Regions from separate parts of the Homo sapiens genome. Here all the other regions are linked to region 1. The links are contacts of gene promoters, found by promoter capture Hi-C in blood cells and fetal thymus (Javierre and others, 2016). All regions are on one chromosome and are shown on one strand. The core of a region is centred on a gene start or on the middle of the fragment in contact, and the rest is flanking DNA. Distances in the headings are between cores, read along the strand shown.

Region 1 (3,169 bases), core at 350-2,849:
ATGCTGTGGCCTTACTGAAACTCTTTGAGTCTTGGTTTTCTCTTACTCATGATTCATTCTGCGTTGAGTGCTTGTATTATCTGTCCCACTCTCCCTTATAGTAAGGGAGTATAATCATATATGTCCAACTCTTTATTCATCAAAAAATGATTATTGATCATGAACTGTGTTATAAACACTATTCTAGAAACTCAGGATACAGTCATGGACAAGATAGAAAAGCCTCTTTCTTGAGGAGTTTACACTCTGCAGAAAGCCTGAGGGTTGCTCTTGAAGACCTGGATCATGGTCCCATTTGTCTGGACTTGTGTTGCTGAAGTCCCAACTGAACAGCAAGTCCAACTAGTCATCCTGGAAGTCCTCAGCTCATGATGAGCTAGCTATTTTAGCACTCTGATCTTCTAAGAACCAACCCTGAACTGCCACCAGGCTTTGCTTATACTATCTAGTCTGGTAGTAAAAAGTGTACAGATGCCCAAACCCACTGAGGTTTATAACCATTTTCAAAGGTTTTAATAAAAAGATTGAATACTGGATTAACTCCAGAGCCTATTCAGGCTCAATTCCTAAGCTATTAATAATCGCTAATATCTAGTGAGTGTAATAATTACTAATATCTAGTGAGTGTTTAGTATGTGCTAGACATTGTACTGATTTACATGTACTAACATCTAATCCTCACAACAATCCGGGGAATAAATACTATTATTATCCTAGTTTTAGAAATAAATGTGACACTTACAGGTTAAGTAATGCACCAAAGGTCACAGAGTGGTCCTTTGGCCTTTGAAACAAAGCATCCTGATGCCAGGCTGTGCTCCTTACCACTATGTCATACTGTTGTAAAGGAGATGGGACTAAGAAGCTCTAAGTCCCCAGTTTGTTTTGTAATTCTGTGACAGTGATCACAAACGTTTTGACAGTCCAGCAAAATCCTGGCCAGAGTTCTCTTTTGTGGACCCAGAAAGCCACAGGCACTAACACTTTAGAGCTATCTCTCTTAGCCCATATGCCCTGCGCTTTTGGCATTTTCTTTATCATTTAGAGGGGAAGGAGGGCAAGGGTCTGAGGAGCCTTGAATGGTGACTTGGACTCCAGGGGTAGTGGCAAACCATTGGAGGTTACAGTGCATGGAATTAAAGACAGCTTGAATGGTATAATCTGACTGGCTCATTTTACAGAAGACAAAAGCTGCTCAGAGACACAAGGGTCTTCCTCAATGGCCCGTGAGTGGCAGAGCTTGTGAAAGGAAGTTGATTCACTGCGAGTGAACCAGAACTCAGAAAGACCAGTAAGCAACCAGGAAACACCGGCCACCATCTAGGCCTGTGGTGATGGCGGTTTTATCACGAATTCCTTCCTGACAATCAACTGCTCCCGGGCAGAAGCGATCGCTTTCTTGACCCACCCAAATGGACAATGACCCAGGCGTGAGGTTCCTGAGGAGAGAAAAAAGTGTGTACAAGGAAAGGAAGAGGATGTCTCCCAATCGGAAACACCGAGATGCGGAAAAGTTGCACCGTAGAAAGAGCAGCCGTGCTCATGACGCACTTCTGGCCTCCAAGCGCCCCACAAGCGTGACGCACTTCCGGCCTCCTAACCGTTCTCGCTAGCGGTGCGCTTCTGGCCTGTTTTGAGTCCGCGCTCAAAGGTGCCAAAGTGCAAGGACCCACAGTTGGGCGGAGCTTGGGTTGGGAGTGAGACAGCATAGCAGTCCAGGCTGGTCCTTTGAGCGCAGCTCAAAGAAGGGGACGGGGAGGGCGTCACTATACAATTGTGGCCGGGTGGGACCTGGGCTGTTTGCTCTTGGAGGCTGTACAGCTGCAAGCTTTGCCGCTCACGAACTGGAGCTGGAGAAAGAGCCCCCCAAGGATGGGAGGATGACAGAAGTGTCTGCAGATGGCACTGCCTGGGCACCAGGAGAGGCAAGGACTCCAGCTGATTCCTACCTCCTAGGGAAGCCATCCCCACTCTTAGTTGGGGCCGGCTTAAGTCTTTAACCAAGGCTCTTGCAGTTGCAGTGTCTGTTTCTTTTGAAGAGGCAGATTTGGAGACCTGTGTCCAAACAAATGCCATTGTCCCATAGTGTTTTTATGTTTTTGTTAGTTTGTTTTGGTTTTTTTGAGACGAAGTCTCGCTCTTGTCACCCAGGCTGGAGTGCAATGGCACCATCTCTACTCACTGCAACCTCCGCCTCCCGAGTTCAAGTGATTCTCCTGCCTCAGCCTCCCGAGTAGCTGGGATTACAGGTGCCTGCCACCACACCCGGCTAATTTTTGTATTTTTAGTAGAGACGGGGTTTCACCATGTTGGTCAGACGGGTCTCAAACTCCTGACCTCAGGCGATCCGCCTGTCTCGGCCTCCCAAAGTGCTGGGATTACAGGCGTGAGCCACTGTGACCAGTCTGAACTCACTTTTAATTTTAGGAGCTTGTTTTGTAGATTCTTTGGGACTTCTTATACAGATAATCATGTTGCCTGCAGATAGTAACAGTTTTGTTCTGAGTTTCGAATCTGTGTGTCTTTCATTTCATTTCTTTTTCTTTTTCTTTTTTTTTTTTTTTTGAGATAGTCTCGTTCTGTCACCCAGGCTGGAGTGCAGTGGCATATTCTCAGCTTACTGCATCCTCCACCTCCCGGGTTCAAGCAATTCTCATGTCTCAGCCTCCTGAGTAGCTGGGATTACAGGCACACACCACCACACCTGGCTCATTTTTATATTTTTAGTAGAGATGCGATTTCTCCATGTTGGCCAGGCTGGTCTTGAACTCCTGGCCTCAAGCAATCCATCCACCTTGGCCTCCCAAAGTGCTGGGATTACAGGTGTGAGCCACTGTGTCTGACCTATGTGCCTTTTATTTCTTTTTCTGGCCTTGCTCTTGCTAAGACTCCCAATATGATGTTAAATAGTAGTGGTAAGAGCAGACATACCTGCCATGTTCCCAATCTTGGAGGGAAAGACATTCTGTCTTTCATCATTAAGTATGTTTGCAGCTGCAAGGAGAGAATAATATTGAATTATATGTCAGTATAGATACTGCAGCACAATATTTAGCTTAACTACATATTTTTTTGCAGCCAAGGCAAAAATGACTTTGTGCATGAAACTTAAGTTCCACCACAGCCTCAGCCTATTTGTGGCTGGGATTTTCAGACATATGGGAGAGAA
Region 2 (3,169 bases), core at 442-2,941, 790 kb after region 1:
TGCCCCCGACTGAAGGCCCCTGGGACTTAGACCTGTGGCCCTTCCCTCAGGTCCCCACGTGGACCGGGTAGGGGCAAGGAGCAGGCGTGTCCTCACGGCTCATGCCTGTTCCCCCACAGGAGAGCCAGAACCTGTTCTGCTGCCTGTACCGCTCCTGGTGCCACAACCCAGTCACCACGGTGTCCCTCTGCTTCCTCACCCAGAACTACCGGCACGCCTATGACCTCATCCAGAAGTTGTATCCTTCCTCTCACTGTGGTTGGGGTTGAGCCTCTGAGGGGCAGGAAGGGGCCGGCTGCCCCCTTTCCACCCAACAGGCGGGCCCAAGTGCCATGCTCCTGTCCCCACCCCTCCACTCAGCCTCAGGGCTTGTGACATCAGGGCTGCCAGGACACTGGGAGGGGAGGGACGTATTTGGGAGAGCGAGATTGGCAGCAAAGAGGGGCTCTTGGAGGGGGAGCTGGCCCGGGAGAAACCCTGTGGGTTGGGATTGGGACTGAGTAGGCCCAGCCCGGCAGGTGCCAGCGGGTGATGCTGGACCATCTTGCTGGGGTGGGAGAGAACCCCAGCTCCTGCCCCTGGGAGAAGGTGGCTGCCCTCTGCTCATTGTAGTTCCTCCTGGGCCTGGTGTGGGGGTGGGGGAGAAGGCCTGGAGCTGGGAATATGGGTGGATGGCTGGGTGAGCCTGCAGGCTTCAGCCCAGGCGTGGGCCTTCGGGGGCCACAGAGCTAGAGCCCGACAGGCTTGAGGATGACACACTGGGGAGAAGCAGGCTGGGCAGAGGCCTCAGAAGCAGGAGGCACCCATTCTCACCTCAGCACTGCGCTCATCAAAAGGCATCCAGAGTTAGATGTTTTGTTTTTTGAGGTGGAGTCTTGCTTTGTCACCCAAGCTGGAGTGCAGTGGGGCGATCTTGGCCCATTGCAACCTCCGCCTCCTGGGTTTAAGTGATTCTCCTGCCTCAGCCTCCCAGGTAGCTGGGATTACAGGCGTTCACCACCATGCCCGGCTAATTTTTGTATTTTTAGTAGAGACAGGGTCTCACCATGTTGGCCAGGCTAGTCTCAAACTCCTGACCTCAAGCGATCTGCCCATCTCGGCCTCCCAAAGTGCTGGGATTACAGGTGTGAGCCACCGCGCCTGGCCAGATTTTTTTTAAAACACCAGTAAGCAAACTAGCCCCATCCATGGGTGCCTGACATGTAACCCAGGATTGGAGTGCTATTTAGAAGGCAACATGACCAGCCAGGAGTTGGGAGTAAGGAAGAAGGGACCAGGAGGTGCCTCAGTGGAGGGCTAGGTGTGGCCCTGCCTGGCTCCCCACAGTGTGCCTGCTTCCCTTCTACAACCTGGATTTGCTCCTCTCAGCCACTTCTGTCACCCAGAGACTGGCAGGCCACTGCCCAGTGCCGCAAGCTTGCTGCAGCCCTGCTGGCAGGAAAGGAGAGAACCCTTCCTGCCCAGCCCTCCCCCAACGGGCTGCAGCGCTGTGATAAGAGCCTCTCCCAGCCCGGGAGGGTGCAGAGGAGACAGCTGCTAGAGTGGAACCTGGAACTCCTGAACAGGGGAGTTCCATTTAGGACAGAAAGGCGAGGAACAGGGAAGAGCCTGGTGTCCTTTGTGCGCCAAATCCTGCTTCACCACAACCAGGCTCTGTGCACAGGAAGCCAGGTGCAGGGGGGGAGGGCGTGTGGTGCTGTGAGCTGCGGCTGTGCTGGCCCAGCAGACAGACTTTCCTTGACTGCACACCCAGTGGGGACCTGGAGGTCACCGTGGACTTCCTCGCAGAGGTGGACAAGCTGGTGCAGCTGATTGAGTGCCCCATCTTCACATGTAAGAACCACCTCCCACCACACCTCGCGCCATGAGTCCAAGGCTGCCCTGGAGTGGGGTGGGTGAAGTCAAGCTCCAGTTGGTCTCTTTTGGCTGGGGAGGGAGGAAGAGCAGTCACCCCAGGGAAGCTTCTGGAATGTTGAGAATGTGAGACTTATAATCCCAGCACTTTGGAGGCTGAGGCTGGAGCATCTCTTAACGGCAGGAGTTCGAGACCAGCCTGGGCACCATAGTGAGATCTCATCTGCACAAAATTTTTTAAAAATTAGCCAGGCATGAGAGTGCATGCCTATAGTCACCACTACTCAGAAGGCTGAGGTAGGAGGATCACTTGAGCCCAGGAGGTTGAGACTACAGTGATCTGTGACTGTACCACTGCACTCCAGCCTGGGTGACAGAGCAAGACCCTGCCTCAGAAAAAAAAAAAAAAAAAAGACTGGGATGATAGGCCTGCAAGGCCAGCCAGAGCAGGGCTGGGGCACGTGGCATCAGAACCTGGATCCTGCCTGTATCCCTCACAGTGAGTCTCCTGGACATGAGCCAGCGCTGACAGCAGAACCCCCTTGAAGGCTGATACCAGGCCCCTGGGCTGTCCCCAGCCACCCCTCCGGGTCTGCTGCCTCTGCTCTGGCTCTCTGAAGTTGTGGGTCCCGAGTCCCTCTGCAGGTGCTCCTGTTGGCCCAAGAGCCATGCCTGTACCTCTCTGAAAGAAGAGTTGGCATTTGCTGGGAGCCAGTGGGCAGGAGCTGCCTGCTTAGTAACACCCAGGCTGAATGTGCAAAAGTGGCAGCTGGCTGGGGCGAGCACAGCTCTCAGCACCTCAACATACACACTTTGAATGACGCTTATGTGCTTATAATGTGCAGAGAAGCCAGGAGGCCACTCTGCTGGTGGCCACCTTCCCTGCCAAGCTGGCCACCCGGCCTCTCCCACTCTCTGGCAGCGTCTCTGACCCGCCCGGCCTAAGCCCATCAGCCTGAGCCCTGGAGCCTGAATTGAATGCAGGGGCTGAAGAACACCCGTTCCCATCCCCTCCTGAGCCCCCTTCAAAGGGCAGCCTCATCAAGCAGCAGGGTGCCGTAGGAACTGATGCCCTGGAGACAGAAGAGCAGGGGGGAGACCCTGCTCTCCGCAGAGTGCGCTAAAGCCTGTCCCAGGTGTGCCCAGCGTGACACTTCCCCGAGGGCCTCCCAGGGACACAGGCACCCACACGGCCGCCTGAGGTCAGATCCTAAAAAGACCCTGCTCCTGCTGCTGGTCTGTCCTGACTCATCTCTCCAGTTGTACATTCTTGGCATTCCAGAAGCATCCCTAGGATGACTGCCCTCCCTCCCTG
Region 3 (3,169 bases), core at 1-2,500, 700 kb after region 1:
CAGGACTCAGGGCTCTACCTGAAGGAGCTGATCGAGCCAGTGCTGACCTGCTTCAATGATGCAGACAGCAGGCTGCGCTACTATGCCTGCGAGGCCCTCTACAACATCGTCAAGGTGGCCCGGGGCGCTGTGCTGCCCCACTTCAACGTGCTCTTTGACGGGCTGAGCAAGGTAACCGCCCTCCTCCTCCTCCTCACTGAGCTGCGCTTGGTTCCCCCACCTCACTTGACCTTCTGGAACCTTGGACCCCTTTTCCCAGATGCAAGCAGAGCAAACAAGCATGTGGCTGCAAGGGACACTTACTGTCTGTTGAATCTAATCATTTTTAATGGACTTGCATTTATACCTTTTTTCATTTCTCTTTTAATTCATTTTGATTGCATTTGATATAAGTATCAGTCTGCCATACAGTAGAGGGAAGAAGCTGATAGTCTGTGAAACACTCGCCTCCCTGGTAGAAGGGGATGATGCTGACGCCATCATCCAGACCGTACTTTCCCTTTAGGGAGGGCTGCACTTAGTCTAGCTCATAAGTGCCCTAGAAAAAGCTCATGCTCTCCTCCGTGCCTCTTGCAGCCTGGTGGAGTTCCCTTCCCAGGCGCGGAGCAGCCCTGCAATGCTGCTGCCCCTGCAGAATGCCACGGAAGTTTCTAGAGTATCAGCCTCGCAGCTACCCTGTCCCCTCCTCCAGGAGTGGAACAAGGACCCAGCGCTTTAAGATTGGAAACCCCTGGGGAAGGCTGACGGGAAGCAACCCCGTGACCCAGTCACAACAGGGAACAGGAACCCCAGCGGGTCATGGGAGAAGTCCCTGAACAGAAGGGTATTTCCTGAATCTGCTCCTCAGCCAACTCCATTGTACCCACTCCCACTTTCCCAGCCTTTCTCAAATGTGTTCACCGAAAGGGTGATGTTCTTGCTAGATGTTCTGGGCTGCACCAAGGCCTCGGCTGCGGATTTGCAGGAAATCCCTGGTCTTGCATCCAACCGTGACCCTCGCCTCTGTGTCCCTCCCCTGTCTGTGCCTCTTGCAGCTGGCAGCCGACCCAGACCCCAATGTGAAAAGCGGATCTGAGCTCCTAGACCGCCTTTTAAAGGTATTTGTACTTTGTCCCCACTTTTATTTCTACAATCTGTTTCTCCCGTCTGTCTGTAAAGCTTAGAAATTCTGTCATTGGGAATGTTCTTCTTGAATTTAAAATATATTTTAAATTTACATGTACTCCCTGGTGTGCAGTTCTATGACAAGAATATCGAGCTCAATCACCACTATCAAATACAGAACTGTGCCATCACCCAAAATGTCCCCTTTTGTTGCCGCCACCTAGAGCAAAGAAGCTTGCCTGTCACTTTCCACACCTCTCTGGCCCTGACAGCAGGGGCCTGGGCATTCCATCCAGACCACAGAGAGTAGGGTCTTGCCATTCAGTTGGTTCTCTCGACTTTGCTTCCTGCTTTCAATCTACCCGTTTTTCGTATCCCGTGGACTGGGACAGGATGAATACTCCAGAGACCTCTTATGCCTAGCTCAGGATCTGCCATTTTCCTTGGTGGCCGCCTGAGCGCTGGAGCCAGCCCTGGGCAAGTGATTCAGCGAGGTCAGGCAGCCCTGGTCTCGGGCTCTCGGCAGCTCACTTTCCTCTGATCCACAGGACATTGTGACTGAGAGCAACAAGTTTGACCTGGTGAGCTTCATCCCCTTGTTGCGAGAGAGGATTTACTCCAACAACCAGTATGCCCGGCAGTTCATCATCTCCTGGGTAAGGCCTGGCCGGACACCGTTTCTCCAGCCTCCAGTTTGGAAAATCTGCTCTCTAGCACACTCTTGTCAGGCCCTTTGGCTATAGGAACCCTCCATGTTCTCCCTTGAATAGCCATTAACACCTGATAATTCAAAAACACCTTATTCAGCTTTGCCCCCGAAACCCACCATGTTGGCCCTGAAGGGATCAGGTTCTTGTTGCCCTGGAAGGGAGTCCAGTTCTTTCCTTGTCCCAGAAAACACCTGAGTTTCCTTTAAAGCCAGCAGTGCTACTTCCAGCAATCTCACTTTTTCTAGCCTTTTCTGTCCTTCCCCATCCATCCCCTTCTCCCCTGGGCATCCGAATTTCCTTAGAGTCAAATTGCCATTCCCCTGCACATTAAACAAGAAATGCTGACTGTCCTTGCCAGCACCCTCCTCCCACATGGGACACCTGCACTGCAGGGAAATGCTGTCTCAGCAGGGTCCCCTTCCTACAGCCCAGTCCCAGAGGCTTGGTGAGCAGGAAACAGGGTTCTGGAGCTGACTTCCCCTCCTGTTCCCTTCCCCTGGTCAGATCCTGGTTCTGGAGTCGGTGCCAGACATTAACCTGCTGGATTACCTGCCGGAGATCCTGGATGGACTCTTCCAGATCCTGGGTGACAATGGCAAAGAGATTCGCAAAATGTGAGTGGAGTAAGGGGCAGGAAGCTGCTGCCTCCTGCCACCCCCAGCTGTGCCCATGTGCTTCATGCCCACAGAGAGGCCGCGGCAGGAGGGCAGGAAATCACCTCTTCTTCCTGGCTCTTGTGCTTCCCGCTTTGAGGAGCCAAGAGCCCATCAACCCCCAGCATCTGAAAATGATCACCTGACAAGTCCAAAAGCCAAGCCGCCCTCTGGGTGGCTGACCCAGCACGGAAATGGGGCTGGTTTGAGGCTCCTCCAGCCCTGGCTGACCCTCGCTGTTTCCACTTTCCTGTTCTTGTTCATAGGTGTGAGGTTGTTCTTGGAGAATTCTTAAAAGAAATTAAGAAGAACCCCTCCAGTGTGAAGTTTGCTGAGATGGCCAACATCCTGGTGATCCACTGCCAGACAACAGGTGAGTATTGGGGGAGGGCCCACAGCCACGGCTGCCACTGCTGCTGCCACTGCCACCTCTGCAGAAGCCCCTTTCACCATCTCAGCTTCAGTGAGGGGGCAGGGGAGATTCCTGGTAGGAATATTAGCCAGTGTGACAGTGGGCCCTGGGAGAGGTGGAGTGCTGGGTCTCACAGAGGGAGGTCTGGGTTCTGTCACCACAGAGACACAGAGGTCCTTTCACCTGGTGTGTGTGGCCTGTGTGGAGTAAGATCTGGAGGTTTCCTTACTGGTGAACTTGGCCTTAGCCCTGAGACTTGAAATGCTTGGAGCTTGGGATTATGTATCTGT
Region 4 (3,169 bases), core at 203-2,702, 680 kb after region 1:
GTATCTAAAGCCATTTTCTTAGAGCCTAGCCTATAGTAAGTGCTCCATATACATTAGCTGTTACATCAGTTGGAATATAGGTTCAACTACTAAAACAGAAACCCAAAGCTAGACACAGTGGTTCACATCTGCAATCCTAGCACTTTGGGAGGCTCAGGTGGGAAGATCGCTATAGCCAGGAGTTGAAGACCAGCCTGGGCAACATAGCGAGACCTCATCTCTATTTAAAAACATAAAATAAAATTCTAAAAAACAGAAACCACAAATAACAGCAAATTAGGTGTTGGTTTCTCTCACAAATAACAGTCTGGGCATAAGCAGTTTGAGCTGGAATGGCAGCTCGCTGACACCAGGCACCCAGACATCTTCTGTCCCGATGCTCTGCCCTCTGAAGGGAGCTGTTTTGGTCCACGTGGGCCAAGATGGTTTATCAGGACATCCACATTCCAGCCAGCTACAAGGGAAGAGGGGACAGTTGTATATATCACCTCTACTAATATTCCATGGAACAAAACTTCACAGGACCACACCTATCAACAAAGGAGCTAGGAAAGGTAGCTTTTGTACTGGGCAGTCACATGCCCAGGTAAAATCAGAGATCTTGTGGCTGTAGCCAAGAGGCAGAGGCTCTTGATCAGTTGTATCAGCCAAGAGATGCTAGGTTAGGTGCAGTAGCAATCACAGGGGCTTAAGATGAAGGCTTGTTTCTCATTTGAGCAATTTTCCAGAGAGGCCAGCAGGGGACCCTGCTCATCTCAGTCTCTTGGGATTCAAGCACCATCTCAAATATTTCCAGTACAGTATTAGAGTGGTGAAAGGACCCTGACAGGAGTTAAATTGGCAATGAAAGGCTCTAGCATGGAAGTGACACCTTTCACTTCTGCTCACAGCTAGTTGTCTGGAACTAGCACCACCCATCTGCAAGGAACCAGAATGTTTGGTCTTCCATGTACATGGAAGGAAAGAACCGAATATAGGGGATCAGCATCCATGACTGCCCTATTAACGTAATGTGGCTGTGTGTCTCAGTACACATTATTAACATCTCTTTGCCTTTGTTTCTTTGTAGCAAAATAGAAATAATAATTAGTAATACCTACCCTACAAGGGAGTTATAAGGACACAACTTTATAACATTCCCAGTCTCACACAGACATAGTTGCTTGATGTCCAGGAGTGGAGGGGCTGGGGTAGACTTGAGCTCCTGGTGTGCTCTTCAGGATCTCACGTGAGCTGAGTTTGTTTGTTCCCCTTTCAGACCGACTGTACAGACTTCCACGCAGAAAAACTCATTAATGCAGCCCCAGGAGGCCAGGGAGGCACTGAAGCCAGTGTGGAAGTCTTATTCGAGCCCAGCCACCTGGGTGAGACCAAGGGCATCCTGATCCTATCATCGCTCGCAGGTGGAGAGTATATCATCCCCCTCTTTGGAATGGCTCTGCCTCCCAAGCCCCAAGGTCCCTTCTCGATCCGAGCCGGGTACAGCATAATCATCCCCTTCAAGAATGTCTTCTATCACATGGTGACCTTCTCCATCATCGTGGATAACCCAGCCTTCACCATTCGCGCTGGAGAGTCTGTGCGGCCCAAGAAGATCAACAACATCACAGTCTCCTTTGAAGGAAACCCATCTGGCAGCAAAACCCCCATCACCACCAAGCTGACTGTGAGCTGCCCTCCTGGTGAAGGGAGTGAGACTGGAGTTAAATGGGTTTATTATCTGAAGGGGATCACCCTTTAGTGGTAACCAGGGTTACCTGTATCAACCAAAAGCTATGCATTGTCTTAGCCTGAAAAAGAATAGAGAAAACAATAAGAATTCTAAAGGAACTGTTTTTATTCTTCTCATACAATTATAGGGCAGTTATTTCCCTATTATGTGTTTTCCAAATATAGATATGAAATATCTATTCCATATTAAACATTATAACTACACACAACAGCTCTATATTTTAGACAACTGAATCCTTGTGAGTCCCTAAATTGAGTTTCTTGACATAGCCCCAAAGCTCAAGTACTTTGTAATAATTCCCATTTTTATCAAGAAGGCACAGGTATCACACTAGTGACCTTCTACTCTACAACACTTAGCAATGCGTGACGCTGGGTACTGCAGTTTCTTTTTAAAATCCAAAATGGTTTAAAAAGCCCTTAGACATGACTATTTTGATGTGGCATTTTATTCTGCTTTCACATAAAAGCCAAATAAATATTTTCAGAGGGATGAGCAGATAACATTAGGGCAATCCAGGGACACTCCCATCACTTTTTCTCTTGGCTTTTATACCATCAGTGTCCGAATCCCACATCTGCCCTACACAGAAAGTTCTCACTGAAGTCTAGGCCCTGGAGAAAGGCTAATAGAGATCCCAGCTCCCCCCACCACACATACACACCCCGCCTTGGATAGCATTCAGCAGGAGAGCAGGGATTCTCAACCCATCTGCACATCAGGACCACCTAACTCTCACTCTGAACGTGCCCAGTCCCCATCTGATGTAATTGGTCTGGAGAGGGGTGTGGGCATCTTTATTATATACATTTAACTTGTATAGCAGATGGTTAAAGTCTGGCCCTGGCATGGGTTTGCTTCTGCAGACATACACCTCTGACGGAGGGTCCCCCTGCCTCTACCTGCTCCCCACACTCATCCCCCACAGCCCTCCTACAAGAGGGGCAGGAGACTGGAAGAAGATGGCCTCTTGGGAATGAATGCCGTAAAGAAGTGGGTCTTAAAAATGGTCCCTGGGCCAGCAGCAGTACTATCACCTGGGAATTTATTAAAAGTCAAACTCTCAGTCCCCATGTCAGATCGACTGAATCAAAAAGTCTGTAGGTGTGGCCCGGCAATCTTTTAGCAAGTCCTTATACCTGTCAGAGGTGGCTTTCATGGAGGGAGACTCTTCTCCTTCTTCTGTACCTCCCCACAACCCTAGCCCAGTATACTCTAGGACCAAAAAAGCTTTTTCTAGAATGTCTGTAAACACAGACCTTTACAATAGTCCTCCCTCATCCTCAGGGGATACATTCCAAGGTGCCCAGTAGATGCCTGAAACCACAGATAGTACTGAACACTCCATATACTGTGGTATTTTCCTTTACATACATACCTTTGATTAATTTATAAATTAGGCACAGTAAGACATTAACAATAATAATAATAAAATGT

What was found. The method cuts DNA at HindIII sites, captures the fragments that hold promoters and counts their contacts. A CHiCAGO score of 5 or more calls a contact.
Region 2: a fragment that was not itself captured here is called in contact with the fragment with the promoter of ZNF19 in region 1 in 1 of 17 cell types (erythroblasts); the score reaches 16.8 in erythroblasts.
Region 3: a fragment that was not itself captured here is called in contact with the fragment with the promoter of ZNF19 in region 1 in 2 of 17 cell types (endothelial precursors and megakaryocytes); the score reaches 6.0 in endothelial precursors.
Region 4: a fragment that was not itself captured here is called in contact with the fragment with the promoter of ZNF19 in region 1 in 1 of 17 cell types (megakaryocytes); the score reaches 5.8 in megakaryocytes.

Annotation. Positions count from the first base shown.
Region 1 is chr16:71,487,754-71,490,922 of GRCh38, reverse strand. It overlaps ZNF19 (zinc finger protein 19), which reads left to right and starts at 1,599. Exons shown (of 6, transcript NM_006961.4): 1 at 1,599-1,651. The HindIII fragment of the contact is 1,961 bases long and covers 1-1,830 here.
Region 2 is chr16:70,694,208-70,697,376 of GRCh38, reverse strand. It overlaps VAC14 (VAC14 component of PIKFYVE complex), which reads left to right. Exons shown (of 19, transcript NM_018052.5): 16 at 120-238; 17 at 1,754-1,833. Among named protein-coding and RNA genes, the nearest start is that of MTSS2, 9.7 kb to the right of the region's middle. RefSeq lists enhancers at 1-232, 1,059-1,885, 1,886-2,711, 2,712-3,169. The HindIII fragment of the contact is 545 bases long and covers 1,419-1,963 here.
Region 3 is chr16:70,782,704-70,785,872 of GRCh38, reverse strand. VAC14 (VAC14 component of PIKFYVE complex) reads left to right here. Exons shown (of 19, transcript NM_018052.5): 3 at 4-171; 4 at 1,035-1,097; 5 at 1,653-1,760; 6 at 2,319-2,428; 7 at 2,734-2,840. Among named protein-coding and RNA genes, the nearest start is that of TRG-GCC2-4, 5.2 kb to the right of the region's middle. The HindIII fragment of the contact is 180 bases long and covers 1,161-1,340 here.
Region 4 is chr16:70,806,152-70,809,320 of GRCh38, reverse strand. HYDIN (HYDIN axonemal central pair apparatus protein) reads left to right here. Exons shown (of 86, transcript NM_001270974.2): 86 at 1,259-3,169. The coding sequence ends at 1,741. Among named protein-coding and RNA genes, the nearest start is that of VAC14, 6.6 kb to the right of the region's middle. The HindIII fragment of the contact is 3,024 bases long and covers 1-2,964 here.